Linked DNA regions of Homo sapiens: region 1 is linked to region 2. Evidence: promoter capture Hi-C in 16 types of primary human blood cells and fetal thymus (Javierre and others, 2016). All regions are on one chromosome and are shown on one strand. The core of a region is centred on a gene start or on the middle of the fragment in contact, and the rest is flanking DNA. Distances in the headings are between cores, read along the strand shown.

The links. The method cuts DNA at HindIII sites, captures the fragments that hold promoters and counts their contacts. A CHiCAGO score of 5 or more calls a contact.
Region 1: a contact is called between the fragment with the promoter of FHAD1 here and the fragment with the promoter of CELA2A in region 2, in 3 of 17 cell types (erythroblasts, total CD8 T cells and total B cells). The highest score is 5.5, in erythroblasts.

The regions. Positions count from the first base shown.
Region 1 is chr1:15,245,579-15,251,310 of GRCh38, reverse strand. FHAD1 (forkhead associated phosphopeptide binding domain 1) reads right to left here and starts at 4,088. Exons shown (of 34, transcript NM_001391957.1): 1 at 3,916-4,088. RefSeq lists silencers at 3,823-4,062, 4,080-4,253. The HindIII fragment of the contact is 5,643 bases long and covers 1-5,533 here.
Region 2 is chr1:15,454,549-15,460,372 of GRCh38, reverse strand. It overlaps CELA2A (chymotrypsin like elastase 2A), which reads right to left and starts at 3,641. Exons shown (of 8, transcript NM_033440.3): 1 at 3,580-3,641; 2 at 3,199-3,287. The coding sequence starts at 3,619. The HindIII fragment of the contact is 8,750 bases long and covers 1-5,824 here.

The sequences.
Region 1 (5,732 bases), core at 2,839-5,338, 210 kb after region 2:
TCTATAAAATGGGTGGTTTTTTTTGTTTTTTTTTTTTGAGACAGGGTCTCACTTTGTCATCCAGGCTGCAGGGCAGTGAGCAATCTTGGCTCACTGAGGTCTCGATCTCCTGGGCTCAAGCAATCCTCCTGCCTCAGCCTCCCCAGTAGCTGGGATTACAGGTGTGCACCACCACACCTGGCTAAAGAGACGGGGTATTGCCATGTTGCCCAGGCTAGTCTCAAACTCTTGAGCTCAAGTAATCCTCCTGCCTTGGCCTCCCAAAGTGCTGGGATTACAGACAGGAGCCACCACACCCAGCCTAAAATGGGTTAAATGCAATAATATACGTGAGGTATCTAGAATGGTGCCTGGCACACACTGAACACTCATTTGTACTACTCTTATTAGTGTTGTTAACCTGGGCTTCTCAAACTCTGATCCAAGGAACCCTAAACTTCTATAGAGCTTATTTTATTCATTCATTCATATTTAGAGATGAGGTCTTGCTCTTTGCCCAGGCTGAGTTCAGTGGCACAATCATAGCTCGCTGCAGTCTTGAACTCTTGGGCTCAACTGATCCTCCTGCCTCAGCCTCCAGAGTAGCTAGGAATACAGGCACACCACCATGTCTGCTTTTGGAGTTTCTTAAAGAGTTATCATTGGAGAGGCAGGCATTAGATGATGTTTTTCTTTTTAAATCGCTGTATTTCTTCATTTATTTAGTTAGGGGAAAAAAGATTACTTCTAAAGGCAAAATATCAAGATTATAGCTCAGCCATGTAATCAGGACCCTGCACAGTATTCCCCCCAGCATTTTACTATAAAAATGTCAAACATACAGAGAGGCTGAAAGAAGCAGATAATGAGCTCCTATGTACCCACCACTAGATTCTACCATCGGCATTTTGCCATATTTGCTTTATCACAGATCTTTCCATCTATCCGTGTGTCCATCCATTTTATATTGTGGTGCATTTCGAAATAAGTTCTATACACATCTTTTAAGACAAACACTTCAGTGACTTCAGAAAGTTCTAAAATATTGACAGTAATTCATCTCGATGCTTGAATCCGATTTGAGATTACGTCTAAAGATGCAGTGTGATATCCTCCACCTCAATTCCTTGTCAAAGAACAACAACAGTCTCTCTCTTTTCCATTCAATTGAAAAGTCAGTGAAATGACAAATTATTGGACTATGGGTAAAAACAAAAATCAACTAGTTGTGGTGGTACGGACTCTCGGGGCTGGCTCTGCTTTTCATCATCATCTCTATCATCATTTATGGAGTCCTTAGTAAGTGCCAGGCACTTTTCCTTGAATATACTCTTTTCATCCTCAGAGAAACCCTGCAAGGTGGGTGTCATTATTGTCCCTACTTTACAGAAAAGGAGACTGAGATGCAGAGAGGTTAAGGTCCCCTAGCATTCGGGCAGGGAGATTGCCATTGCATGTCACCACTACATAATCCTCAGGCAGCTCAACTTTTCACACCTCCATCACTGCTGGGTGGGGAGGGGATGGGATGGGGGAGCAGAGAGAGTGACTGAGTGGGGGGAGGGAGAGGTTGTCACTTGGGATAGTGGGGTTGTCACTGTTTTGTTGACACTTAGGACATGAAATAACAGATAGCCCTTAACACCAGAATTCTATCCTCTGCAAAAAAAGAAAAGACCCTTGGGAGTAAGAGAAATAAAAACAAGCCAGATAGTTTATGTTTGTAAATTCCGAAGCCTATGAGAAATCCTCAGAAATATTAATACTTTCATATAATGAGAATTTTATTTTTAAGTCTGCTGTCTTTAATAGGGATAAAAAGACACTTCTTTTTCCAAAAGAACCATGCCCTGTTGCCCTCAAATTGCCTGAGTTATTAATCTTCAATTGCAGAGGACTACATCATCAAGCACCACATCCAAACTAAAGTAAAAGTAATCTAAAGTCAACTTTCGAGAAATGTCTCTTTTGTGGGAAAGCCACAGGAAATGCCTCCAGAGTAAAACCCCAAATCTGAATGACTGGCTTTTTTTTTTTTTTTAGCTCTTCCCCCCGATGTTTCCACAGCTGGTGCCTTGCGGTAGCTACCTGACCACCCCAGCTAAAGGCGTCACCAGTCACTTTGTTGTCTAGCTAGCATGTGTCACTGCTGTGGCTCCTTCCTTGAGCTTATCATTCTCTGTCATTTTCTTGTTCTTTACTTAGCTGTTTACTGTTTCCCTTTCACTGAGATACGTTCCAAGAGAGCCCAAACTGTGTTGTTTTTGTTAAACTCAATTCTCCATGGGTTTCCTGTGTTTGTACCCATCTTCAGAGCAAAGACACTGACAGATTTTGTTCCAGACAATCTTCCAAGGACATCTGTAGGGCAAATATCCTGAGAGGATAGGGATAGTGTCCCTATCCAGGGCAGAGTGCAGATTTATGATAAAAATGTCATCTCTGGCTGGGCACGGTGGCTCATGCCTGTAATCCTAGCACTTTGGGAGGCCCAGGTGGACGGATCACCTGAGGTCAGGAGTTTGAGACCAGCCTGGCCAACATGGCGAAACCCTGTCTCTACTAAAAACACAAAAAAATTAGCCGGGCATGGTGGCTTGCACCTGTAGTCCCAGCTAATCGGAAGTCTGAGGCAGGAGAATCACTTGAAACCGTGCAGCAGAGGTTGCAGTGAGCTGAGATTGTGCCACTGCACTCTATCTAGCTTGGGAGACAGAGCAAGACTCTGTCTCAATTAAAAAAAAAAAAAAAAGGTCATCTCCTTCCAGGGCAAAGGTTGGGCACTGGCTAGCAGCCCCTTTTAAAAGACTGGAGTTTCCTGAGCTTGGGGTTCCTTAGCTGGGAAACAGACTCGCAGTGTGCACAGCATCCACCTGAGCTGTCCTGCATCACCCCGGGGTACTTGCAGGGCAAGGGGAACCAACGCAAACATGAGCTCACAGTGCCTGCTGTGCTGTGAGTAATAACATCCTTTGTCTCTGGTCCTGGAGTCTCTGGTCTTCTGCTAGCATCATTAAGCAGTGGCAGGCTAACTTAGCTTGCAAGTAGTGTAAAAATCTCAGACCCTTTGCATTTCCTCACAGTCTGTTCATTACTCCCCTCTGGCCCCCAGCGCTGCCATGCCTGACACATAGTGGTGCTCAGTAAATCATGAATGAATGAAAGTACAAAACAATGCTTAAAAGTAAGTCAGGGTAGCCTAAGAACCTCTGACAGTAACTACCTTTCATTTTCCCCTTCAGTATTTATCCTAGATGACATTCTGGAAAAAAAAAAAAAAGTCTATTTCTTTAGCTGAATGGGTTGGGCCCTATTTCCCCACTTTAATCTTGCCCTGTGCAGTCACTTTCCTACCTGAAAACACTGTAGAAAGTGATTAGATGCGTTAAACTCTGTAAATTAGTTCTAAGACACAGGGCACCGACCATGCAAAAGAGCAAAAGAGCTTCAGGCATCTGCACTCCCTGCTTATAGGTCACAAGTGAGATAGAGAAGCAAAATTTCTGTTGAGGGGTTACCAGATCTTAAGTGGCCTGGGAGCCCTAGAAATTCCTCAGTGTTGTATTTGGGAAGGGAGAGGTTAGGCAAGGGGGGAGTCTCTCTGACCGCCGGGTGGGTGTCGTTCGTAAGTCAGGGGCAGCAGGGATGCCCCTCCTAATCCCAGCTGTAACCCCCAGGACTTCCCAGAGTGGCATGGCTGGTGCCAAGGAGGGTCTAAGGCTCCCGGGGGCTTCCTCCGCGGGCGGGGTGGGGCCTGCATCTGGAAAGGAGGGGCTGGTGTTGGGGTAGCTACTGGGGTGCTCCTGGGGACCGGAGCCTGGATCCAGGAGGATGGGGCCGGGGAGCCACCCCTCCTCCTGCCAGGGCTAGTCCTCGCTGGGCCGCCCCTTCCGGTCCCCGGTCTCGGCCCGCCACCCCTTCCCGCGCCGCACTCACCTGGCGGGAGGAGGAAGCCCACGCTCCGACCTCCGCCGAGAGCCCTGCCAGCTCGGGAGGCGTCGGGCCAGCTCCGGGGCGAAGCCTCCCGGCCGCGCTCCCGCGGAGTCTCCAGCTCGCACCCGGCACCCCGCCCGCCCGGCCGGCCTGTGTACGCGCGTTGCCATGGCAACGCCGCCAGGCGCCGCGGGGTCCAGCCTAATAGATGAGGGCGTGGCCTGCGCGGCAGAGGGGGCGTGGCACCGTGCAGGGAACGCCCACTGGGTTACCGCCTGCTGAATGCTCCAGGCCCCACGAGCCTGCCCCATTTCACAGATAGGAAAGCGGAGGCTCAGAGGTCACAGAAATGGCCCAAGGTTTTACAGCGAGGAAGGAGCAGGGAGGAGATTTGATTCAAGAATCCTTTCCATTACCCCTCACTGTAAGCTGGATGCGTTGAGGGAGGGTCGGGGGCGATAGGGAGAGGTAGGAGATTGATGGAGCTGAACTCATGAGACCCTTGGAGGTTAGTATGCCCCCTGCCCTACCCAAATCTCTAGTCCTTTCCGTTACAGGCCAGAAAATAGAAAGAGTAAGAAGAGGGGATCTCTGGGAGTGGGGTGGGGATTGGGAAAGGGATGGGGTGGAATGAAAAATTTTGAAAGAATGAGGATTTCTTCCATGTGCTGGGGAAAAAATATTTCCAAACTCACAATCCTGCTGCCTCTGCTCCTCCCTGTTAAGAGTGACATTTATTCATTCTTTTGCCCTTTCTCTATCTCTGCAAACATCTTTTGAGTCCTATGAGTGTCACACGCTGATCCCAGAATACACCTGGAACAGTTACTGTCCTTAAGAAACCGCTTGTCAGCCGGCACAGGACTCGCGGGATGGAGTGTGTTGAGCAGATGTGCAAATCCTATCTCCCGCCACTATCTCCAGCAGGAAATCCTATCTCCTGCTGACTCTACCTGGAGAGTGATTCCTTTCACTGGCAGGAAATGGCTGACCAGACACCTCAAGAAAAACTCTAAACGTTTTTCTAAGAGAGATGAACTATGGCACATTCTACCCTAGTGATACGGTTTGGCTGTGTGTCCCCACCCAAATTTCATCTCGAATTGCACTCCCCACGTGTTGGAAGAGGGGCCTGGTGGGAGGTGATTGAATCATGGGGGCAGACTTCCCGCTTGCTTTTCTCATGATAGCGAGTGAGTTCTCATGAGATCTGATGGTTTAAAAGTGTGGCACTTCCCCCTTTGCTCTCTCTCTCTCCTGCTACACCATGTTACAACATGCTAGCTTCCTTGCTTCCCCTTGGCCTTCCGCCATAACTGTAAGTTTCCTGAGGCCTCCCTAGCAGTGCAGAACTGTGAGTCAATTAAACTTCTTTTCTTTGTAAATTATTCAGTCTCAAGGAATTACTTTATAGCAGTGTGAGAACAGACTAATACACCTAGTCAATAGGAAGAGGATCTGAGAGAGAAATCATGGACATCGATTTGTGGTGGAATATACAGTGAAGATGCTCAAACGTGCCTGGAGGCTTTTAGAAATGCGGACTTCTGGGCACAGACCCCAGAGATTCTGATTTAGCAGGCCTGGGACATAATCCAGGAATGTGCATTTGCAACAAGCTTGACAAAACCCTGATTTATGCAGCTGAACTGCAGAGACCTCTCCCGGAGCCTGTCCCTACAAATCTCTTCCAGGCCCTCAGTCTGGAAGGTTCTGCCTGGATCAGTTTCCTACAACCAGAAAGATTCTAGGCGTAAAATGTTAGGAGGGACCACAAGGGCTGGGACCCAAGTGATGGCTTCACAGGAACAGAGAGGGTC
Region 2 (5,824 bases), core at 2,392-4,891:
AAAAAAGATGTTTAAAATTAGAAAAAGTGAAAAAAGATACTTAAAAGGATGTACCCCCCCCCCAATTTAAAAATGTGCTGAAACCATCGTACAGATGTGAAATTTAGCCCACATAATACGTATTATGTGTGGCCAGCAAAGTGTAGCTAAAGAGGTAGCACTGAACCAGATTTGAATCCTCATTCGCCCCCCGGGCTAACCCAGTGCCTTTGGGGAATTCTGTAACCTTTCCAAGTCCCAGTTGCCTTCTCTGGAAATGGGGAACATAAGCCACTGTGCAGGGCTCTCAGGGTGACTCATACTGTAATTAAGCCTGGGTGACAGAATGAGACTCTGTCTCCTGGAGAAGAAACAAAATTGCATTAAAATATCATTCATCTTCGTTAGTGAGGTTTTTTGTTTGTTTGTATTTTTTTTTTTTTTTTGAGATGGCTATCTATGTTGCCCATGCTGGTCTCAAACTCTTGGGCTCAAGCAATCCTCCTGCCTCAGCCCCTTGAATAGCTGGGATTAAAGGTGTGTGCCACTGTTCCTGGCTGGTTGCTGAGTTTTGTGCTACCCCCTTACATTTTGCCTCCAGAGTGAATGTCTTACTTGCCTCATCTGAGTCCCCACCCAGCTAGATCTGCCTTATTTCCGCAGGGAAACAGAAGCACAAAGCATAGGGACTCTTCATGGATTAACATTCACTGGTTCTCAAGGCAAGAATACTTTTGTGCAAGAGGGTGAGGAAGTATTTTTGTAGGCAGCAATGATTAGTTCTTAGCACAAATGCGCCCGGTGTTATGGGGCCCTGTAGCAGAGGGACTGTGGCCCTTCTTCCAAATTCTCAGGGAAAAAATACTGTGGGACTGTGAGAAAAGCAAAAGAACTGGCAAAAGCACACAAAGCCAAGTATATAAATTGTGAGGCTGGGTTGAGAGGCTCACGCCTGTGATCCCAGCACTTTGGGAGGCCGACGCAGGAGGATCACTTGAGCCCAGAAGTTCAAGACCAGCCTGGGCAACATAGTGAGACCCATCTCTAAAAAAAAAAAAAGAAACTTAACCGGGTGTGGGGGCATGCACCTGTGGTCTCAGCTGATAGGGAGGCTGAGGTGGGAGGATCGCTTGAGCCTAGGAGTTCGAGGCCGCTGTGAGCCATGTTTCACCAGCCACTGTACTCCAGCCTGGGTGACAGAATGTGACACTGTCTCAAAAAAAAAAAAAAATTACTATGGGTGAGCACAGTGGTGGGTGCCTGTAATCCCAGCACTTTGGGAGGCTGAGGCAGGTAGATGGCCAGAGCCCAGGAGTTGGAGGCTGCAGTGAGCTATGATTGTGCCACTGCACTCCAGCCTGGGTGACAGAGCAAGACTCTGTCTCAAAAAAAGAAAAAAATGTGAAATATCTGCCATCATTCTATCGTTGACAGTCTTTTTTTTTTTTTTTTTTTTTTTTTTTTTTTTTTTTTTTTTTTTTTTTTATGGATCTCACTCTGTCACCCAGGCTGGAGTGCAGAGGTGTGATCTTGGCTCACCGCAACCTGCGCCTCCCAGGTTCAAGCGATTCTTGTGCCTCAGCCTCCCAAGTAGCTGGGACTACAGGTGCCCGCCACCATGCCTGGCTAATTTTTGTATTTTTAGTAGAGGCAGAGTTTCACCATGTTGGCCAGGCTGGTCTCAAACTCCTGACCTCAGGTGATCCACCTGCCTCGGCCTGCCAAAGTGCTGGGATTACAGGCATGAGCCACCACGCCTGGCCTATCATTGACAGTCTCTTAATCAAGGAGCAGATGAATGAACGCTGGCCTCTCTAAACACAGTGACTGCTGCATGGGTCACTCTGAATGCTCAAGGCTAGTGGGCTGCTAGTTGCTCCTCCTACTTAAGGTAGAAACTCATCCTGATTCAGCTGGGTTTGCTCCCAAAGCAGTTTATATCAATTATGCTTGTAATAATGAAATTTGATTAAACATGTAACCAATGAAATATGAGTTCAGAAAGAGAGTCGTTATTTATATGGAAACAAAGTTAAATGCTTGGAAGAGACTGGATCACCATGACTCTTAAAAAATTGCTCTTGAAGTAGTGTCTGTGAGAAAATGGAAAGATTGGATGGGCTCATAACTCAGATTGCTTTGTGAACGTCTCAAAGTTACTGCTCTGCTTTAAAGAAACGGGTTTGTAGATAAGATATGGGGCATGGCTTATATGAAAAAGACAGTTAAGAACTCAAAAAATTGTTTACATAGTCTAAGATAAAATCTTTACTATATATATATGATTTAAAATAATTTCTTTATAACCAACTTTTCAATTACTCGGTCCCAATTACATCAGATAAATGAGATTTCACTATATTTGTTTATGTCAATGTAAACTTTACACATTTCTCTTAAAATCCCCACCATTAACACGTCTGAGTAATTTACACCTGTGCCCCACTTGGCAGTTTAGTCTTGATACCACTATGATTATATCAACTTAAGAAAACATTTTTTTCATTGGTAACATTGATTTGCCTGTGGTTAAAGATTAATCTGCGCAAATAGCACTGATTGGTTCCTTAAAGCAAGGAATGTTTGCATAGGTAGTCTTGAATGGTTCCTAGACTGATGGTACATTTGTAAACAAGCCTCTGATTGGTTAATAGAGTAATACTATATTTGCTGCCTATGGGCAGTGGGGAGGGGACAGCTCCTTACTGCAGCTGGAGGAGGCACCTCTCCCTCCACTCCCAAGGTTGGCCAAGGCCACAGAAATGTATCTTTTTTTTTTTTTTTGAGACAGAGTCTTGCTTTGTTGCCCAGGCTGGAGTACAGTGGTGCAATTTCAGCTCACTGCAACCTCTGCCTCCTGGGTTCAAGCGATCCTCCTGCCTAAGCCTCCCCAGTTGCTGGGATTACAGGCGTGTGCCACCACACCTGGCTACTTGTGTATTATTAGTAGAGGCAGGTTTCACCATGTTGGCCAGGCTGGTCTCAAACTCCTGACTTCAGGTGATCTGCCCACCACAGCCTCCCACAGTGCTGGGATAACAGGCATGAGCCACTGCGCCCAGCCGGAAATATATCTTATTGCTAAAGTTGCCTGTGCTGCTCTCTGAGTCCCATCAATACTCACTTTGCCAGCACAATAGACGCCATGGTGGAAGGGCAAAGGGGAGATGTAAAGGGAGTGGGGCAGGGACGGGGAGAAGTACAGTGTGGTCAACTCACCTGCCAGGGCCAGCTGTTGGGCCTCGCTTCTTCACCGCCAACCACCCTAGTCACATAAGGTGGGTAAGTGGGGTCCCCACAACTGAGGGCTGTGAAAAGAGAAAGGGTCTTGAGTCAGGAAGCAGCGACCCACACAATGTAAACTACACTTGCTGCGCATTCTGACCCCCCAAATAGAAAACCCTTGTTCTAGAAGGATCCCAAGAGGTCATAGAATCCTGCTCTTTGCTCCAATTCTTTGAAACTCCATTCCAATGTTCTTATGATTATAGGTCTGAATGCAGTAGGGGTTGGGTGGGGGCGAGAGGGGAGGACAGGAAGATCCCATTTCCAGCCCCACCAGGGCATGGGAAACCAGTGCCTCTGGGTAACAGGACTTACCTCCAGCCACCAAAGTGGACAGCAGCAGCGTCCTTATCATGGTGTGTCCGTGGGAGTTCTGTAAGCGTGGCCCTGGATAAGGCCCTGGTTTTATGAGCGGACTTATCAGTGAGAGATACAGTAAGAGCACGCAAGATGGGGTTTTCTCAAAGCCCAGTGGAAAAAAGAGCTGTGTCCAAATATTTTTTTTTTCCCATTTCCTCCCAAATGTCACCCTAGAAATACTTTGAAAAAGATGCCAAAGGTAGATATTGGAATATGGGTTCCATCTGTTTTGAAGAGATTATGTTGTGTGTTAGGGAAGGAAGAAAAATACTAATTGTTGGTGCTCGGAGTTGTTTTTTTTTTTGTTTGTTTGTTTTTGTTCCCCTCCCTGGGTAAGACTGAGGAGAGGAGTTGTGTTTTCTTTCTTTCTTTCTTTCTTTTTTCTTTCTGAGATGGAGTCTTGCTCTGTCACCCAGGCTGGAATGAAGTGGCGTGATCTCAGCTCACTGCAACCTCTGCCTCCTGGGTTCAAGCAATTCCCCTGCTTCAGCCTCCCTAGTAGTTGGGATTACAGGTGTGTGCCACCATTGCTGGCTAATTTTTGTATTTTTAGTAGAGACGGGGGGTCTCATCATGTTGGCCAGGCTGGTGTCGAACTCCTGGCCTCAAGTGATCTGCTCGCCTCGGCCTCCCAAAGTGCTAGGATTACAGGCTGAGCCACCATGCCCGGCCAGGAGTTGTGTTTTCAATGAAAAGATTAAGGTGGCATGCTGAGCCCACAGCATTCTAAGGCAGTATTTCTCAATGGGGCTGGTTCAGCCCACCAGGAGACGTTTGACAACATCTGGAGAGAATTTTGGTTGTCATGGCTGGGGTTGATGTAAATTGGCATCCAGTGGGCAGGGAGCAGAGAGCAGAGACGCTGCTAAACACCCGACAATGCACTGGGCAATAGGACTCGCCCTGCCCCAAATGTCAATGGTGCTGAGACTGAGAAAGCCTGTTCTAGGCCATACCAGGGGTTGCAATGTGACCTTGGCTGAGTCATGTAAGTCTCTAGACCCATCTGTGAAACAGGGAGAGAAACCCATGCCCAGTATTGTTTCACAACATTGTGGTAAGGATTTGTATAATGTGGGGAAGGTGCACATGTAGCAGAATTTGCATAATGCGGGGAAGGTGCACATGTAGCAGAAGGCAAGGCCGACATGCACAATTAGGATCTGGCCACTCTAATGATGGGGGGAAGCAGAACGCTGGCAGAGGAGGGCTTCATCTGGTGGATGAAAATGCACTTTACGGCCGGGCACGGTGGCTCACTCCTATAATCCCAGAACTTTGGGAGGCTGATGCGGGCAGACCACCTGAGGCCAGGAGTTCAAGACCAGCCTGGCCAACATGGTGAAACCCCGTCTCTACTAAAAATACAAAAATTAGTAGCGTGTGGGGCTGCATGCCTGTAGTCCCAGCTACTCAGGAGGCTGAGGCAGGATAACCTCTCGAACCTTGGAGGTGGAGGTTGCAGTGAGCTGAGATCGCACCACTGCACTTTAGTTTGGGCAACAGAGCAAGACTCCATCTCAAAAAAAAAAAAAAAAAAGACCAGCTCCACACTCTTAAGACTTGATATCAAGTGTTTTTTTTTTTTTTTTTTTTTTTTTTTTTTTTTTTTTTTTGAGACGGAGTCTCGCTCTGTCACTCAGGCTAGGGCGTAGTGGCGCGATCTCGGCTCACTGCTACCTCTGCTTCTCAAGTTCAAGTGATTCTTCTGCCTCAGCCTCCCTAGTAGCTGGGACTACAGGCACCGGCCACCACACCCGACTTATTTTTGTATTTTTAGTAGAGACGGGGTTTCACCATATTGGCCAGGCTGGTCTTGAACTCCTCACCTCGTGTTCGTCCGCCTCGGCCTCCCAAAGTGCTGGGATTACAGGCATGAACCACCGCGCCCAGCCGAGTTCAAGTCTTTGATCCATCAATTTTGAGTGTGGTGGTCTGGACAAGCCACTTATCTTCTGGGCCTTACTTTCCTAGATAACCATCCAGGCCTGGATTGCAGGATTGTTGTACGGGTAAGAAAATGGGTGGGAAAGAATTCTGCAATCTCCCTAGGATGGTGCAAAGGTGAGAAAGATTGGGTGGGGGGCAGCATCCCATGGGACTGGATGTCAGAAGATGTAGATTCCAGTCCCAACTCCATCCCATAATCCCTGTAACAGTTTGGACTCATTTGTGGTCTGTATGAGTCACTACAGCAACC